Regions from separate parts of the Homo sapiens genome. Here region 2 is linked to region 1. The links are contacts of gene promoters, found by promoter capture Hi-C in human tissues and cell types (Jung and others, 2019). All regions are on one chromosome and are shown on one strand. The core of a region is centred on a gene start or on the middle of the fragment in contact, and the rest is flanking DNA. Distances in the headings are between cores, read along the strand shown. Region 1 holds the start of LRIT2 (leucine rich repeat, Ig-like and transmembrane domains 2). Region 2 overlaps NRG3 (neuregulin 3).

Region 1 (2,700 bases), core at 122-2,621:
TAGACTGTTTGGAAACTCCTGCAAATATTTCTGGCTTGGATGGAAAGCCTGGAGTGTAATCAGCTTAGCTGGTGACCCATTTCCCCCCTCACTGGTTAGCTAAGCGGATTTTCTTTCCTGAGGCCTTTTGTAGGGTACAATGTATATCATGAGTCTTAAAGGAACTCATGGAATTTCAATATTCAACTGGAAGTGCCCTAGTTAATAGAGATGTAGACTTTTCGGATCTTAAAGAGTTTGTCAGTGGGAGGAGGATTAATGGGCACCAACTGTGTGCTAGGTGTTGTATTTAACATAATCTCAAACTTTTCTAAAAATATGGCTGGATGCAATGGCTTGCACCTGTAATCCCAGTTACTTGGGAGGCTGAGAAGTTTGAGACCAGCCTGGGCAACAGAGTGAGACCCTGTCTCTGAAAAAATACAAAAATTAAAAAATAATGAGAAATAAATTCCTGGAAACACTATGAGGTATTTGTTAATATTCTCATGATACAGAAAAGACTCACAGAGATTAAATTACATTCCAAAGATCTCAAGATTCAGAAGCACAAACAAGAGAGAAGACTCCTTGGGACAGGGTCTATAATAGGTTTGCCCTTGACCCTGTTCCTTTCATTGGGCAAGAGTATAGCTTAAAGCAAATGACCAGTAAATATTTGTGGAATAAATGAAGAGTGAAAGAGCAAGCATATAAAATTGTATACATCTCTTTTTAAAATGTAGGTTGCCCATTTTGATGAAGTGAAATGCACAGTATTAAGGAAAGGTTGTGAAGTCCAAGAAAACAATCTTTTGGTTTAATCAGAAAATACCATCTTGTATTTGAAACTGGTGACCCAAGCTGCAGAAGCAGCTGTCTTGATGCAGTAGGAGCATGACTACACCACCCGTGGTGTTGGGAAGAGAACAAATGATAGGAATGAACACAGAATTACTTTGTTACTCATCACCTATTTTCACTTTGAGAAAATGATTGGAAATTCTAGGTTTCAGGAATCAACTGCAAATGATGAAGCATTAGATGGATTCTGGCCACATCCCCTGAACAGTGGTGCTCAGAATAGCACTGCCTGCTTGTTTCTCAGACTTCTGTTTAAGACTCTAAGAAATGTAGAATCTGTATGGAATTGGACATCTGACTTGGAGTTTGCTTTTCAGACTCAAGAATTACACAAATGTTGAATTTCCTGACCCTAGTTAAGAGACATTGATCCCCCTTCGTGTGTTCTGACTGAACTTGTGGTCTGGGCTGTAACAGACCTCAGAGCTCCCATGGGCTTTCCTGCTGCTGTGTGACTTACATCATCATGGATTACCAATAATAGGATTTGCCACTCGGAAGCTGGGGCGATACTTATTCAAAACTCACAACGTATTTTCTTACAGAGAAATATGGCTTCAGTTTTTCATTACTTCCTGTTAGTTCTGGTCTTTCTGGATACACACGCAGCTCAGCCTTTCTGTCTGCCAGGATGCACTTGCTCAGAGGAGAGTTTTGGCAGGTGCGCTCTGCTGGCCAGATGTTAGAGGGTTATGGGGAATGGGTTTTCTTTGGGGATGATGTGGAGTGGAAGCAGGCTTAGAATTGGCAGGAAATCAGCAAAACTCTATGAGACTCATTCTAGTTGGGACTGAACTTTGCTGAACTGTGCATTTTTACCAAAATGAGTCTAACTCTTTTATTTCAATGAATAATAATATTTTTATTCTGATTCACATGTCTAATGCCAGGATCAGCCTGACCCCACTTTTCAGTCCCCTGTTGTTTATCTTAAAGCTGTTCTGGTTTCTTGTACAGGACTCTGCAGTGCACATCTGTCTCCTTGGGAAAGATCCCTGGGAACCTTTCTGAAGAGTTCAAGCAAGTGAGAATTGAAAATTCACCCTTATTTGAGATGCCCCAAGGGTCTTTCATCAACATGAGCACCTTGGAATACCTCTGGCTCAATTTTAACAATATCAGTGTGATCCACCTAGGAGCCCTGGAACACCTGCCAGAACTGAGGGAGCTGAGACTGGAGGGGAACAAGCTCTGCTCAGTACCATGGACAGCGTTCCGTGCCACCCCTCTCCTGAGGGTCTTGGATCTCAAACGCAACAAGATTGATGCACTCCCTGAGCTGGCTCTTCAATTCTTGGTCAGCCTGACCTACCTTGACCTATCCTCCAATAGGCTTACAGTTGTATCCAAGAGTGTCTTCCTGAACTGGCCAGCCTACCAGAAATGCCGGCAGCCTGACTGTGGGGCTGAGATTCTCTCCAGCCTGGTGGTGGCCCTGCATGACAACCCCTGGGTATGTGACTGTCGCCTAAGGGGGCTTGTCCAGTTTGTCAAGTCCATTACCCTCCCAGTCATCCTGGTGAATTCCTACCTGATATGTCAGGGCCCTCTGTCCAAGGCAGGGCAGCTTTTTCATGAAACTGAGCTTAGTGCTTGCATGAAGCCACAGATCTCAACCCCCAGTGCCAATATCACCATCCGGGCAGGACAGAATGTGACCCTGCGATGCTTGGCACAGGCCAGCCCCTCACCATCCATTGCATGGACTTATCCCCTGAGTATGTGGAGAGAATTTGATGGTAAGCCACATGCACCCTCTCAGTGTATCTGGAGGGAATGGAGAGGTCTGTAGCAAACCCATCCTCATTAGAGAGATTCAAAGCTGGGTCAGTCACGAAGGGTGGGTGCAAGTAAGAT
Region 2 (2,763 bases), core at 206-2,705, 1.4 Mb after region 1:
AATCATAATATTATGGCAGGAGCCATATATTGTTTTATCATCTTATCCCAGGACAGGTGAAAAAACAATAAATAAGTAGCTGTATAAGGAATAAATTCATAATTTTGAGATTACTTTAGTTGTCTAAATTCCGGGTTTGATTTAAAACATGAAGCATGGGTAATTCTATTAATCATAAATAGGTAAAAGTTTTGTCATTGCAGAAAAAGCTAATGAAGTATTTCTAAAAAATAACAGTTTAATTGGAGAGATTTTTTTCATTCTAAGGCTATCTAAAAAAGTTAATCACATATATAATCATCTATGAAAGATCTCACACATTTATATTATCATAAAAATATCTCAAAATTAAAAGAAAAATGTGTGTGTTTAATTACATAATGTCACTGATCACCAAAAATTATAAGTAATTTGTAATAGTAAAATGAAATGAGTCGACTCCTTTATTGAATTTAAATGAATTTGAATATTTATTTTCTGGAACATTTAGTAAAATGATCTCAATGTATCATTCAGATTTAACTGTGTGATACACAGTGTAAGTAGAAACTGTATTTATAAGCTATAAACAAAATGAAAGGAGAAACTCTAAGGTGCTTATTCAAAATAGCGACTTGACTACTGTGCTTTTTTTTTTTTACTACGTGTGTAGAAATTATGTTTGAGGGGCATTTATGAGAGCAATTATTCAAGATACATGAAAAATGAGATGAAAATAAGTGAAGAACCTACGAATTAACCATAAATGTTCCTCATTCACAACACAGAAAGGGTAACACCAGATACATCTACCCCCTTACGATAATGGGAGTCAATTTATTGGAGAAAATTTTTGCAGTTATTGAGAAAGATGAAGAAGGAAAGAAATTGTCTGTGAGAGGAGACTATTTAGGTAAAGAAAGAAAAAGGATTTGTAAACAAGGAATAGTACTGTGAGTCCCTGGACTGTTTCAAAGAAAATTAGATGTGTTTTGTGAAAAAATAAATGAAATAAATTTATTTAAAAAGTATGCCATATGACTGTCTTTGCAGCCATATAAGAGAAGACAGGAAACAGGGAAAAAGGGAAAAAGAAGCTTGCTTTGGAGGCATGATGTATAAATCAGTATTTCTCACTCTTGAATGTGCATAGGATTCATCAAGGGAGCTTATTATTAATAAAACAAAGATTCTGAAGCAGTTTGCTTTGGGGTGGCACTTGAGATTCTGTGTATCTAACAAGCTCCCAGATGATGCTGATGTTGCTGGCCTTGGATCACACTTTAAATTCCAACAAGAAAGGAAATTACATTGTAGTCCTATGGATGTGTGTTCACATCCTAACTCTGATTCATGTAATTATGTATTCTGGACTCATGGAGGCCTCTGAACTTTACATAGGTGGACATGAGTAGCAACACTCCACACACCCCGTTGCAAGGTAATGAAATAATGTTAGCAAATCCCCAGACACAAAGTAGGTATTCATGACTGTCAGTTCCCCTTATTGAGTCCTTGCAAGTTTACTTGCTCAAATTGATGTTATTGAACATGCAGTAATTATTATATTTCAAGTGTAATGAAAACATGTAAGTCAAGATGCCCCCTAAATAAGTCAAAAATTAGATATCATTTCACTTTTATAACATTTGTCTTTTTATGTACTTTGACAGATGTCTCATTTAGAAGCAGAACATGATTAGAGGGAAAGAAATTGTTGGAAAGATATTGCAAACATTTGGAAAAGCAAGAGGCTAAAACTCATGTTGGGATGGTGACTTTCTCCCAGGACATTTATGTCCAATAACCAATTAGGGTCTTGGCAGCAAACAATGTGTGGAAAGCTGTAATTCCATCACATGAAAGCAGGAAACAGTTGAAATAAAATATAGTGTGAGTCTTTAAAGTCTATGTAGACAATGAGTAGATGTGCTTCAAAAATAAAATGATTTGCAGGTAGGACAAATAGAAATAGGAAGGGTTACATGCAGATGGTGCCTATCTGATGTCTACAACAGGCTCTATCAGACAACCTTATGATCCAAACTGCAGAGGAACACATGAGACTTACCTAAGTACTATGCACTAATTCCAGTACCCCCATCAGACTGTCATCTACATCATCTTCTCTACGTATCTGGTTGTCACTCCTAAATTATTCTCTTTTTCCCTCCTGATTAGCCACTCCGGATTTATATACTAATGGTACATGACAACTCCTAGATGCATCTCAGAAATGTGAAACAACATCCTCAAATCAATGCCTTTTCTAGAGAGAAATACTTGAAAAGTCTCAACTAATCATCAGGTTGGGTCTTTAGCTTCACTTCTCACATTAATTGTAGGTCCGTGAGTAGAAGCCTAGCTCATTACCCAATACCTCATACATGCTCTACTAATACGTGATGTGTGAATGAGGTCAGGATTTTTGTCTTTAGTATATATTTTTATAAAAACAGCAAAAACTAAGTAGAAAGGCAATCACAGAACTTGATCACAAATAAAATATATAGAAAATAATGCCGTCTTATCTAAGTATTCAGACAATCGGGCATAATTTCAGGCCTCAATTGTCATTGTCATTGTTGAAAAGACCTATAAGTCATATTTATAACAGGAAGTGTCAATAAGGCACATGAGGAACTCAAACCTTGTTGACACTCACATCTGCTTAAAGCCATAGCTGATGTTTCCCTGAGGTGTCACTTGCTTTCTGATATGAAAGGACCCAGTCTCTCTATAAACAAATGCTTCTCTAGCAGTAGATTAGGATGAATGAATTCT

Evidence for each region. Contacts are between HindIII fragments. The study calls those that stand out against the background at their distance.
Region 2: a contact is called between a fragment that was not itself captured here and the fragment with the promoter of LRIT2 in region 1, in 1 of the 25 tissues and cell types used here (dorsolateral prefrontal cortex).

Annotation. Positions count from the first base shown.
Region 1 is chr10:84,224,215-84,226,914 of GRCh38, reverse strand. It overlaps LRIT2 (leucine rich repeat, Ig-like and transmembrane domains 2), which reads left to right and starts at 1,371. Exons shown (of 3, transcript NM_001017924.5): 1 at 1,371-1,504; 2 at 1,801-2,582. The coding sequence starts at 1,395. The HindIII fragment of the contact is 11,140 bases long and covers 1-2,700 here.
Region 2 is chr10:82,806,075-82,808,837 of GRCh38, reverse strand. All of the region lies in intron 3 of NRG3 (neuregulin 3), which reads right to left. Among named protein-coding and RNA genes, the nearest start is that of NRG3-AS1, 570 kb to the right of the region's middle. The HindIII fragment of the contact is 4,270 bases long and covers 1-2,763 here.